3 separate regions of the Homo sapiens genome follow, and all the other regions are linked to region 1. Evidence: promoter capture Hi-C in 16 types of primary human blood cells and fetal thymus (Javierre and others, 2016). All regions are on one chromosome and are shown on one strand. The core of a region is centred on a gene start or on the middle of the fragment in contact, and the rest is flanking DNA. Distances in the headings are between cores, read along the strand shown. Region 1 holds the start of YY1 (YY1 transcription factor). Region 2 has its middle 13 kb from the start of LINC00523. Region 3 overlaps LINC00523 (long intergenic non-protein coding RNA 523).

What was found. Contacts are between HindIII fragments. The CHiCAGO score rates a contact against its expected background, and 5 or more counts as called.
Region 2: a fragment that was not itself captured here is called in contact with the fragment with the promoter of YY1 in region 1 in 2 of 17 cell types (monocytes and neutrophils); the score reaches 8.5 in monocytes.
Region 3: a fragment that was not itself captured here is called in contact with the fragment with the promoter of YY1 in region 1 in 1 of 17 cell types (megakaryocytes); the score reaches 5.7 in megakaryocytes.

What each region holds. Positions count from the first base shown.
Region 1 is chr14:100,237,571-100,241,981 of GRCh38, forward strand. It overlaps YY1 (YY1 transcription factor), which reads left to right and starts at 1,574. Exons shown (of 5, transcript NM_003403.5): 1 at 1,574-2,353. The coding sequence starts at 1,675. YY1-DT (YY1 divergent transcript) reads right to left here and starts at 1,051. Exons shown (of 2, transcript NR_189150.1): 1 at 901-1,051. RefSeq lists enhancers at 636-1,488, 2,326-2,485 and silencers at 726-1,325, 1,386-1,465, 1,616-1,685, 2,176-2,225, 2,496-3,175. The HindIII fragment of the contact is 3,842 bases long and covers 1-3,223 here.
Region 2 is chr14:100,642,046-100,646,446 of GRCh38, forward strand. No RefSeq gene overlaps it. Among named protein-coding and RNA genes, the nearest start is that of LINC00523, 13 kb to the right of the region's middle. RefSeq lists an enhancer at 3,130-3,630. The HindIII fragment of the contact is 4,860 bases long and covers 1-3,879 here.
Region 3 is chr14:100,659,805-100,664,272 of GRCh38, forward strand. The region is part of intron 1 of LINC00523 (long intergenic non-protein coding RNA 523); the gene reads left to right. Among named protein-coding and RNA genes, the nearest start is that of LINC00523, 4.8 kb to the left of the region's middle. RefSeq lists an enhancer at 718-1,917. The HindIII fragment of the contact is 267 bases long and covers 2,941-3,207 here.

The sequences.
Region 1 (4,411 bases), core at 324-2,823:
GAGGCGTTAAATCGGCCAAACGAGTACAACAAAGACACACCTTTCCAACTCTTCAATTTGTCATAGTTTCCTTAAAAATCAGGAAATCTTTGTTTTGCTTTAAGGCAAATTGTCAGGTCGACCAAAAGGACAGATAAGAGCAGAAACACTTCGCTGCAATGTAACTCATTCAGGAAGGTTTAACTTGCCGCTAATCCGTGCCACAAAAAAAAATCTAGGCTCTGTTGCAGGTACAATGGAGGACACGGCTGAAAAAATTTGGAATTTTAAATGAGACAAATGCAAAACCTGGTGGGCGTAAAAAGGAGCACCTATGAAAGTGACAAATAGGGGGAAAGGGTGGGCAAGGGAAACAATGGCTGACTGGAGAGCAAAGAAGGGGAAGCTCAGGAGAAAATTTTAGAAAGCCGCCAGGACCCTGTAGTTCTAAGATCTACGGGGAAACAGGCACCCAACGGCTGCGTCTCAGGTTTCCGCGGGTCACTAAAGAATAACGGACATCCTCCCAACGGTGGCCCTGGGGCTCCGCGGGCGCTTCCGCCGAGCTCGCGCCGACCCCGCGCTCGGCCCCGCACCCCGCCGGGCGCTCGCGGCGAGATACCGGACGCTGCCCGCGTCGCCCGATTTTGTCCGTTCGGTCCTCCACACTCACCCCGCGGCCATCGCTCGCCCGAAGCCAGGCGACAAGAACAAACACCTCCCGACGCGAAAAAGGAAGCACAGGCGATTCTCGTCAAAGCAGACTTTATTGGGGCGACAGGGCCGCCCCGCACGCGCCAGCCGCTCCCCGCGCGGCCCCCGGGCCGCCCACCCGCCTCAACCCCGCTCCCGGCCGGCCCCTCCCTCCCTTCTCCTCAGGCTCCCGCCCCCGTGGTGCCCGGGGCCGCGCGGACCGCTCACCGGCTCCCAAGGCAGCGGCTGTAGCGGCGACGCCCCGTTCCCGAGTGCGGCCCCGGCCCGAGGCGGCGGGTTTTGTGGCTGTTGCACCGCGAAGGGCGGCAGCCGCGCGACACCGGGAAGCGGGAGGCGGTGGCGGCGGCGGCGGCGCGCTGACGTCACGCGCCGCGGGCCAGCCAGGGCGCGTGCGAGCCGCCCCGCCCCCGGTCCCATCGGCCCCAATCCGGGAGGAGCCCGGCGAGTGGGCGGGGCCGCGGAGGCCAGCGGACAGATCGATTGGCCGAGAGGAGAATCGAGAGGGCGAACGGGCGAGTGGCAGCGAGGCGGGGCGGGCTGAGGCCAGCGCGGAAGTCTCGCGAGGCCGGGCCCGAGCAGAGTGTGGCGGCGGCGGCGAGATCTGGGCTCGGGTTGAGGAGTTGGTATTTGTGTGGAAGGAGGCGGAGGCGCAGGAGGAAGGGGGAAGCGGAGCGCCGGCCCGGAGGGCGGGAGGAGGCGCGGCCAGGGCGGGCGGTTGCGGCGAGGCGAGGCGAGGCGGGGAGCCGAGACGAGCAGCGGCCGAGCGAGCGCGGGCGCGGGCGCACCGAGGCGAGGGAGGCGGGGAAGCCCCGCCGCCGCCGCGGCGCCCGCCCCTTCCCCCGCCGCCCGCCCCCTCTCCCCCCGCCCGCTCGCCGCCTTCCTCCCTCTGCCTTCCTTCCCCACGGCCGGCCGCCTCCTCGCCCGCCCGCCCGCAGCCGAGGAGCCGAGGCCGCCGCGGCCGTGGCGGCGGAGCCCTCAGCCATGGCCTCGGGCGACACCCTCTACATCGCCACGGACGGCTCGGAGATGCCGGCCGAGATCGTGGAGCTGCACGAGATCGAGGTGGAGACCATCCCGGTGGAGACCATCGAGACCACAGTGGTGGGCGAGGAGGAGGAGGAGGACGACGACGACGAGGACGGCGGCGGTGGCGACCACGGCGGCGGGGGCGGCCACGGGCACGCCGGCCACCACCACCACCACCATCACCACCACCACCACCCGCCCATGATCGCTCTGCAGCCGCTGGTCACCGACGACCCGACCCAGGTGCACCACCACCAGGAGGTGATCCTGGTGCAGACGCGCGAGGAGGTGGTGGGCGGCGACGACTCGGACGGGCTGCGCGCCGAGGACGGCTTCGAGGATCAGATTCTCATCCCGGTGCCCGCGCCGGCCGGCGGCGACGACGACTACATTGAACAAACGCTGGTCACCGTGGCGGCGGCCGGCAAGAGCGGCGGCGGCGGCTCGTCGTCGTCGGGAGGCGGCCGCGTCAAGAAGGGCGGCGGCAAGAAGAGCGGCAAGAAGAGTTACCTCAGCGGCGGGGCCGGCGCGGCGGGCGGCGGCGGCGCCGACCCGGGCAACAAGAAGTGGGAGCAGAAGCAGGTGCAGATCAAGACCCTGGAGGGCGAGTTCTCGGTCACCATGTGGTCCTCAGGTGAGCGCCGGCCGCGCGCCCCGGCCCCGGGATGTTTTTGTTTTGAAGGGAAGCCATGTTTTATGTGTGTGATGGGCGCCGCCATCTTCTTCGCCAGGGCAAGTATGGCGGCCCCAAAAGATGGCGGGCCGTGCGGCGGCGGGGGCGCGGCGGCGGCGGCGGGCGGCGGGCCGCGAAGATGGCGGCAGGCCGCGGGGGGGAGGGGCCGGCGCCGCCCGGCTAGGCCGCAATGGCGTAGTTTCTCCGAGAGGGGGAAGCGCCGCGCGGGGCGGAGACGGCCGGGGGAGGGGCCGGCGCGCTCGCTCCCCGACGCCCTCGCTCCCCGCGCCCGCATCAACGGGCGCGCCCGCCGGCCCGTTGTGGCGGCAGCTGCGCGCCCCCGGCCCGGGCGGGACGCGGGAGGTCGTTGGCGGGGCTGCGCCGCGGCCTCGCGGGCCAGGGATTGCTGCCTCCGGGACGCGCGCCCCCGCCCCCGCCCGGCGCTGCCGTTACCCCATCGGCCGCTGGAGGGCGCCGCGGGCGCTTGCCCCGCCCGCCCCCAACTTCCCCGGACTCCCAACTGCTCCCCGGTGGCACCTTCCAGAAGGAGGGGGCTTGGCACTCGTGGGCGCCCTCCGGCCTCCTTGCTCCCCGCCCACCCAGCGCCGGGCTGGACCCTGCCCCGGCGGTCACGCTCGCCCAAGTCGTCGTTTGCTGCGGGGCGGGACTTGGGGCTGCACGTAGGGCTCGCGTGTGCGGGCTCCGAGCGTCAGTCGGAGCCTGTCACCGCCGTTGCCAGCGAATTCCTGGCCTTTTCGCCTTCCTGCGGTACCTAGTGGAAAGGGCCTGTGAATGTTAGCGAATAATTCTTAGTCACTTACGTTTTGGGAAAGCTTTTTTTTTTTCCCTCAAGTATTTAGCTCTTCTGAATAGGTTGGGTTAGTTTACTCAACTGTGGACATTTGCCAGTAAATAAAATCGGGTAGTTTAATTTTAAGCCTTTATGGTTTTTACTTTGTAGAAAGGTATCTATTTTCCCCATGAAAAGAACGATAATAGAAAGCGGGTTTTTTTGAGTTTTGTTTTACTGTTTTAATACTACTTTTAACGAAGGCCTGAAAACCATCTAGAGCAAAAGGATCTTATCTGCCTGTGTAAAATCTGTTTTTACTTCAAAGGCAATTATTAATTCAATGCTGGTTTTTTAGGTCAGTATCCTATTAGTATATTCATATGCTACCTAGCTAAATTGCTGAGATACTAAATAGACTGAGAATAATCCTGCCATCGTAGTTAATCTAATGCCTGTGATGATTACGTTTAGTACTCCATATAAGCGGTGGAACCTCTTCCCTATAAGTACTTTAAAGCTTCATAAATTCTCAGAACTGAATGGAGACTCAAAATATGGTGACCTTTGAGTATTAAAAGATCGTTAAAATTCGGAGGAATGAATGAAACAGAAATGAAAAGGCTGGACTGAAAAAGCTAGTTTGTATCTGGTGAAAGCCTCAAGATGAGACAACTACAGCTGGGTGGATCTGTGATTGAAAGAGGCCTGAGCAAAGGGATCTAGGAGCTGTCAAAATCTAATAGGAAGGTGCTAACAGGCGCTGTCCTGCATCCAGGGTGCCTTGTAGAATTCATAGCAGTTTGAGTTTAGCAGAAACTATGTTTAAATGAAACATGAATACTTTAGTACTTAATGGTTATCAAAAGATAATTTCCATGTATTTTGGTAGCTCAAGAGATTACATACTGATCATGTTGGAACTAAAAGTCATGGTTTTGGCCGGGCGCGGTGGCTCACGCCTGTAATCCCAGCAGTTTGGGAGGCTGAGGCCGGTGGATCACTTGAAGTCTGGAGTTCGAGACCAGCTGGCCATCATAGTGAAACCCCATCTCTACTAAAAATATAAAAATTAGCCAGGCGTGATGGCGGGAGCCCGTAATCCCAGCTACTCGGGAGGCTGAGGCAGGAGAATCGCTTGAACCCAGGAGGCAGAGGTTAACAGTGAGCCGAGATTGCACCACTACACTCCAGCCTGGGTGACAGAGCGAGACTCTGTCTCAAAAGGG
Region 2 (4,401 bases), core at 200-2,699, 400 kb after region 1:
CCCCGCAGCGCCCTGTGCTGTCTCTTTACAGATCAGCTGCTCCCACTGGCCTCTGGACAGCTCCAGACTCATCCCTGTATCCTCCTCACCAAGTCACCAGCCCAGGCCAGGGGAGAAGGGGACTAGGGAGGAGGGAGGAGATGAGGGTGTGGAAGGTGTCATTATTTAGAAGCCGGGGGCATTGAGGTCATGGGCCTGGGCTCAGGATGAATGAGGACCAGAGGGGGAGGACTGAGGGGGCAGGGGCCGGCTCAAGGTGGAGGGGCATGAGGATGGTGTGGGGGGCCCAGGGCAGAAGAGGAAGGGCTAGGAAGCAAACTGATCTTGATAACAGCTTACACTGTTGGAGCCCCTACCTGGGCTGAAGCTGGTGATAGAGAGCTGGGCCCCACTCCAGGGAGGTGACCCTGAGGGGCAGGCACATGAGTAGGTAACTCCAATCCGGGGGACCTGGGACATGGAGAGACAGGCCTGGGGGAAACAGGGGCATTGCAGATGTCATTCAGTTAGACGAGGTCATATCAGAATAAGGTGGGCCCTAATCCAAGGACTGGTGTTCTTATAAGAGGAGAGAGGCCCAGTGCAGTGGCTCACACCTGTAATCCCACCACTCTGGGAGGCCGAGGAGGGAGGATCACCTGAGGTCGGGAGTTCAAGACCAGCCTGGCCAACATGGTGAAACCCCATCTCTACTAAAAATACAAAAATTAGCCAGGCATTCTGGTGGGCACCTGTAATCCCAGCTACTCGGGAGGCTGAGGCAAGAGAATCACTTGAACCTGGGAGGCAGAGGTCGCAGTGAGCTGAGATTGCGCCACTGCACTCCAGCCTGGGTGACAGAGCAAGAGCAAGAGTCCATCTCAAAAAAAAAAAAAAAGAAAAAAAAGAAAAGAAAAGAAGAGGAGAGGCCACAGGGGCACACCTGGGGAGGAGAAGCCATATGAAGACAGAGGCAGAAATGGGGATGACCTGTCCATAGTCAAAGGTTGCCAGCAGTTACCAGACTTCAGAGAGTACAGTTACCAGACTTGGATGCCAGACAGCATCCTCCCCTAGTGCCTCCAGAGAAGTGTGACCCTGGTAACACCTCAATCTCAGACTTCTAGCCTCCAGAACCCTGAGAGAATAGATTTCTGTTGCTTGAGCCCCTCAGTCTGTGGCACTTTGTTAAGGCAGCTGCGGGAAACTAGTACAGACCCCAGGGCTCCTCTGATCCTTAGCCCCGGGAAGGACCAGGGGTAGAGACAGGGACCCCAAACCAAGACTGAGAACAGTGTGCAAAATCAACATGAAACTCCATTTTAGGAAAACAAAGTAAGTAGCATTTCCGGTGCGCCTGAGGTTATGGACTGAGGTTTGAGGCTGTTGCATGGGGGCCTTGTGATTTGGGCTGGAGGAAAGTTGTGCCCTCTTGGGCCCTGCTGGCCACATCTCTGGTTCCTGGGTTGGCGTCATCTGTGACTGCTGGGGCAGTGTTGAAGGGCCAGTATGTGAGTGGCCACTGTGTCTGCCGCCCCAAATTAATATTTGATGGTGTTGAATCACTTTCTTCTGAGACAGAGAAAGAGGCCATCACACATGGGTAATAAGATGCGCTGGGCTGTTCAGCGCAGTCGGGGCCTGAGGAGGTTGACGGCACTGTGAATAATTCATCCGCCTGTAATGATTTTCTAGCCCTTGCGTCCCTCTTGGCCAGAGACAGCCTGACCTGCCCTCCCCTGCCCTGGCAATCCAGCCCAGTGCCTGGTCACTCTCAGTCACACCAACCTGAGAGTGAGAGGCACACGCTCCCCCTAGCTGGGTGGTCTGGGACTTGGCCTCGGTTTCCCCAGCTGCACCAGCAAGAGAGCTGTGTGCCTTGCTCCTACACAGGAGGTACAGAGAGGCCAAGTGCTGTGGCACTGACCCTGGAGTTGGCACCACCCATGTGCTGTGTGACCCTGAGCACCTCTCTGGACCTTGGTCTTGTTACTCTGTACAATGGGGACAGGAGCACTTGCCACCCTGCCTGTCTCACAGGGTCTTATTTCTGCTGTTTTGGTTGGACATTCCTGGTATGAGGTATAGTGTCAGCTGTATTCATTTAGTCTGTTTTTGTTTTTTTGAGATGGAGTCTCTCTCTGTCGCCTAGGCTGCAATGGCACAATCTCGGCTCACTGCAACATCCGCCTCCCAGGTTCAAGCGATTCTCCTGCCTCAGCTTCCTGAGTAGCTGGGATTACAGGTGCACACCACCATGCCCGGCTAATTTTTGTATTTTTAGTAGGGATGGGGTTTCACCATGTTGGCCAGTCTGGTCTCGAACTCCTGACTTCAAGTGATCCACCCGCCTCCGCCTCCCAAAGTGCTGGGATTACAGGCATGAGCCACTGTGCCCGGCCTCATTTAGCTTGACCTCAGTGTGCTGGTCGATGCTGTCCTCACTGAGTGGGTGGCATCCCAGTGGCAGAGACAGGAAGGGGCAGGGGACTGACCAGGAAACAGATGTCTACACTGTGAATGAGTGAGAACAGCCAGGGAGAGCACAAGAGGCTTGGGGTGGAACTGCAGAGCAAAGAGGAGGCGATGAGCTTGGCCAGCGAAGGTCTGAGAAGACTGCCTGGAGGAGGGAGCTGTAAAGCTAATGACTGTGGGAACAAAACATGCACAAGGTGTTCACCATAACAGCAATAGCCACGGTAACGTGCTGCAATACAGCACTAATGGGGTGCAATGTCTCCCACTTTCCCCCCATCCTACTAAAGGGAACCTTCACGTTTAAAAAATCGTTCTTTATGCATATTTGGATTAAACCCCTCCAGGGACTTTCTACTGACTTCAAATAACATCTGCTCTGGCCTGCAAGGCCCCCATCCTCTGTCCCTTGTCTTATCTCAGACCTATTCTCTACCACTTCCTCCTCCTGTTTTCCTGGAACTCCTGGTCTTCTTTCTGTTGCACAAAAAGGCCAGATCAATGCTCACCTCGGGGCCTTTGCAATCGCTATTTCTGCACCAGGAATGATCCCTCCGCCCCGGTCTTTCCTTGCACTTCTTCAGTCTCAGCTCAAACGTCACCTCCACACAGAGGCCTTCCTTGAACACCCCCCAGAGTTGCTGCCCACTCCCAGCCATGGCCACTGCGTTGAATTGCCCTTTTAACTTTGCTTCACAGTTCTTAACACTATAGGACATTTTCTAGTGCAGCCACATCTTTGCCTGTGACACTTTGCCTAGTGACTGTCTATCCCCCTTGGTTGTAAACTTGCCAGGACAGAGACCATGCACCTCTGATGGCTGTATCTCGGGGTGCGGTGACCGGCACACAGTTACCTCTTAAGGAGAACTTATTGCAGTTGAAATCATTCTAAGCCATGCCCTAACTTCCTGGTTTTCAGCTCAGTGTAGCAGCCAGACTCCAGACAGCAGACAGAATCCACACAGTAATCTGATCAAGGCAAGTTGATAGATTATTGATTATAACGGGGCTCTGCAGTAATGAGGGACTGGGCAGTAAGGAGTGAAGGGAACTTGAAAGAACCTAGCGGTTGCAGGCATAAGGAGCAGTTGCTACCCCAGTTCTGAGATACAGCAGCCAAGGAAGACCCTCCCCCGACCAGGGCTCAGTGGGGAGGGCACAGCTGTGGCTTAGTGGATGTGGCTGTGGGCTGCACCAACAGAGCTTGCTGGAAATCCACCCTTTAGGGTGCTGGGGAGGCTGTTCATGAGGAGATATCTGCTACAAACCCACCCTAGAGAGAGCAGAGGGAAGCTGCCAACTGCGTTCACCGCACTGCTGGAGAGGCCGCCCACACTGCAGGAGTCTGCCCAGCCACCGCCCAGTACCAGGAGGGAAAATCCCTGCCTCCTGTCCTGTCTCTCCAGCGCCCTCTGCTGACAAAGCTTAATGTGGTGTCGACAGGCAAAGAAAATCACAAAGGCACCAGCTCATTTTTTAATACAACAGCCAATGCAGGGCAGATTCGGAGCTGGGAGACAATAAATTGATAACTGGCACGGTCCACCCCTTTGGCTACTCACCTTCCATGTGTACTACACACATTTGGACTCCTGTACAGCAGCAAAACATCTTTATATCTCCACCTAACAAGATGCAGCTACAGATCTTACCCATGACAGTTTCTGCCCTCTCTCTGAAACGAGGAGACATGCAGTCCAGCAGCCAGTGTTTCTGTCACTGACTATGTGAATTACTCCTCAAATTCATTTGCATTTCCACTAAATATTTTATTACCTACACACTAAACTGTGAAGTTAACTTCCAACAGTTTGGATATAAAATAAAAATGGAAAGGAGGGGAAGAAAATAATTAGTCTAGGCTGGGTGTGGTGGCTCACGCCTGTAATCCCAGCACTTTGGGAGGCTGGACCAGGTGGATCACTTGAGCCCAGGAGTTCAAGC
Region 3 (4,468 bases), core at 1,824-4,323, 420 kb after region 1:
GCCACTTCACCTCTGGCTCTGCCAAGCCTTGTCCCCGTGGGGCCGCCCTCCACCCCGGCTCTACTGTGCCAGAAAGGAGGCCCCAGAGGCCAGGAGGCACCTGGTCAGCCCACACCTACACCGGCCAAGTAGCAGGTGGACTTTTCACGTGGGAAGCCAGACCAAATCTCTGGGCTCCATTTTCCTGCTAAAGGGAAACAGAAAACCTGGAACCCATCAGTTGTCATTGGGGATGGAGGGGACAGAAGGGACAGGGCCACCTCAATCCTGTCCCTCGAGACCTGAGACAAAGATGTACAAGGTGTGGAGCAGGCAGCGGGACCAGGTTCACTCCCAGAAACCTGGGCTTGGTGAACTAGGGGAGCCTGAGGCTTCGGGGTAACCGGAGAGAACGAGAGAGCTTCCGCACAGTGAGGCTCGCGGCAAGTGCGCAGTAAATGTTAGCCCTGTGGCTGCCCTCCCCGGGACTCAGTTGACCCGTCTCGTCAAACAAAGAAGTCACTCAGAGCATTGGTTCACCCAGGTCCAGGGTGCTGAGAGGGCTGTTCTAGGGGTCTCTGGGTCCCCCATGCCTCCCTTCAACCAGGGAAACTCCCTGAAAATCTATTCTACATTTTGGGCTTCTGGATAAGAATTCACGGGAATAAAGGATCCCACAACTAAAATACATTTTGTAAAAAGGCTGGTTTGGAGACGCATGTGCATACAAAGGGCAGCCCGCAGCCCTCCTGCTCCAAGTCTGTTGGCGGAACTTAAGCCCAGGCAGCCTGTGTGCAAGGGGAGGGCAGCCTGGCTCTGTAGGAGATGGCTGGTTTCAGGGTGGCCTTGACCTTACTATCACGGAGTTCAGTGACCTCTTTGCAGACCTGCTCTGGGCTCAGCTGGGATTCCAGGGACTATCAGCAATTGGAGGGGAGTGTCCCTCCCCACTGAGAGAGGTGGAGAAGGACAGGAGCAGACAGCCCTGCAAATGACTCATCCCTGCCCTCCGTGCCTCAGTGCCCTCATCTGTGAAATGGGTATAATAGGAGTGTCCCTCTTCATAGCGTTGCATGGATGAAATGAGATAATGCATCTAGAGCTCTTAGTGTGGGCGGCCTGGCATGTAGTAAGTGATCAATTAATGGTGGCATGAGTCACTGTTACTCATATTATTATTCATATCGCAGTGCCCTTCGGCTTCTTCAAGAATGTATACTGAGCTGGCCTCACTCCAGAGTTGTTTACTTGTGCTTGTCTTCACAAGGTAATTGAGAAGAGGCCAAAGAGAGCAAGGGCCAGCCCTCCGGCCGCCTGCTTCCCAGGCCGGACTGTTTCCTTCTCCAGGGCCACCTCTGCAAACTCTTCAAAAGAAGCAAGGTCATACTCCCTAGTCTAAGCAAAGGAGGAAACCAAAGGCAGCTTTGATATGTCAGCTTAGGGAACAAGCTGACGGCACGGATCACAAGCGCTGGGTTCTGCCTGAGCAAATGGCTCTAAATGACGTACTTCAGGCTCTCCTCTTAATGTGCTGGGTGTTTATGATTTTTTAAGAAGTGCCTCATCAAAAAAAATGCAATAATGATGCTCCTAACTTAACAGCAGCACTTTAGAAGAGATGAATTATTCACATCAGAGATGAAACAGGGACTCTACAAACTGGGCCAGCTGAAGCAGTCCCTTTCCCGGGAACTATTTTTATCTTTTTTTTACAGTCTTTCATCTTGGGAGACACGCGGTTCGCAATGTACGGGGAGCCCATTGCTTGGAGCCCAAGCTGGCAGGATGTCAAACCTGAAGTACTAGGCGTCTTGGAGCTTCTGCCTGGAGTACGAAATCCGAGGAAACTGAAGTGTGGAAAACGGGGCAGTAGCAATGTGAATGAGGATGATTGAGGGGTGCTGGGGACTCCCTGTTTCTTAACCTTGGAGGGCTCTCAGAGGCATGCTTCTCCATCGTCGACCCAGGGCACCATGGAGCTATCTTGCCCTTTCTTTTCCTGACATCCAATGATTCCCCACCTAATAGTGCATGGAGCTCTTGGGAAAGAGTGTATAGATTCTATATGGTGTGCATGGAGCAGCTGGCCCTGAGGAAGGAAGGGATTTCATTATTGCAAGGCTCAGGGGCAAGTGTGGACTAGCAGGGTCCCAAACTCTACAGGCCTTGACAGTCCAACATTGTCACACTCAACACTCGCCCATTTGCTTTAAAAAGCACCCTAGACCTGCACTCTCTGATATAGCAGCCATGAGCCACATGGGTACTGAACACTTGAAATGCAGTTTGACCAAATCGAAAGGTGCTGTGAGTGCAAGCAGCATACGGGACTTCAGAGACTTAGTACAAAAGGAGAATGTAAACGATCTCGTGAAGATTTCTACATCGATTACACATTGAGATGATAATATTTTGAATACATTGGGTTAAATAAAATATATTGTTAAAATTAATTTCACCTGGTTAAGAGCCAGGTGAAATTTACTTTTCAAAACATGTTGCTAGAAATTGTGAAATTACTTATGTGGCTCACTTTACATTTTTTTTTTTTTTTTTTTGCCCAGGCTGAATGGAGTGCAGTGGCGTGATCTCGGCTCACTGCAACCTCCGCCTCCAAGGTTCAAGCGATTCTTCTGCCTCAGCCTCCTGAGTCGCTGGGATTCTAGGCACATGCCACCACACCCGGCTAATTTTTGTATTTTTGGTAGAGACAGGGTTTCGCCATGTTGGCCAGGCTGGTCTCGAACTCTTGACCTCAGGTGATCTTCCCACCTCGGCCTCCCAAAGCGCTGGGATTACAGGTGTGAGCCACTGCACCCGGCCTCACTTTACATTTTTATTGGACAGCACTGCTCTAGAAAGGGAGCTAGGAAGATAGTAAGTAGTGGCTGACTCTTGGTGGTGGAATTACAAAAGCCTTTCCCCCCTCCTTTTTTAAAAATAATTTTTCTGTGTTTTTTAAGCTTTGCAGAAATGCCACAACTAGCCATTCTTGCTTTATATCTGCAAAGGCACATCTATTATTATTTTTAATGACTCTCAGAGCTTGTTGGGAAATGGGACTGAGTTAAGCAGCTTCCTGGAAGGATCAGTGTCAGCAACCATGCTGTGGGGAGAGTCAGGGAACAGCAAGAGTGTCGGGGGCTTTGAGGACTCCAGAGATTTGAACTGGGCTCAGGGTTCAAGAGCTCAGGTAGGAACCAGAACCCCAGTGAGGGGTGATGGGGAAGCTTATTAGTGAGACACAGGAAGTGGCTCCAGTGATGGCTTCATGGCTTTGGCCTGGTGGGGCCTCTTCCGGTGTACACAGCAGGAAGCTGTGCTCTTCCTGATGGACGTCAGCTCCTATCTCTCCTGGGGAGTGGAGGCTGCTCTGGAGTGGGGCCAAGATCGGGAGGCCCAGGAGAGAAAAGGGCCTGCAATCTACCTCCCAGTCAACAAGATGCTATAATAAAAACATAGCCAACTGTCACTCAGCGTTTATTACGGTGCCAGGTGCTGCTTCACATACTTTCCATATTTTAACTCATCTATTCCTGAATTGCAATCTATGAGATAGGAACTATTATTGTCCCCATTTCACAGATGAGGAAACAGGTGCAGAACCGTGGAGTAACCTGCGCAGGGTCTCCAGTAGAAAAACAGGCCCTTGGTCAGATGAATTTACCCACTTCGGCCACCAGGGGCGCTGTTGGCACAGCTTGAACTCGAGACCAGCGCTGTCCAACGGAAACCGAACGTAAGCCACATTTCTAAAAAGTACACAAGAAAAGTGAAATTAGTGTTATATTTTCTTTAACTCGGTATATCCAAAATAGTATCATCTTGGCATGTAATCAACACGACATTTATTAGATACTTTACTTTTTTTTTGTTAGACTGTGTCTCGAAATCCAACATGCTGTTTGTACTTAAATGCACTTTAGATGTGAGTTCCATTTTAGGCACCCCGTAACGATATGTGGCTCGTGGCTGCTGCATTGAACAGTTCAGCCACTAAAATCAAAGAACTAGCCCAGGATGGCGAATTGGTCCATCCAGTCTACCAACCCTGATTGTTGGTGTTGGTGCTTGGAGGCATGCTGTGATTGATTAGCAATGTCTGCTGTGAACGTGGAAGGGGCACTGTGGGAGGGTCTGTGTCTCCTGTATACTGACTGATCATGAGCCATGCCAGCACAGTGAAAAGAGACCTCTGTATTCCTGTGGGTGGTCGTGCACCAAGGGTTGTGGTGACCTCCCCCTCCTCTGCCCTCCTGTGGTTTTTACTGTGTGCGGTGGGCCAGGCTCCAGGTATACTGATCCTGGGTCCTGTGTTCACATTCCTGTGCCTCTGTTTTCTGGCTGTGACTCCAGATGAGCCACTATACTTCTGCGAGCCTCAGCTTCCATATCTGAAAAATAGGCGTAATAACCACTACTTAGCAGGACTGCTACATATATGAAGAATTGGCATTCAATAGACATAGAGTAAGTGGTGGCTCCCCAT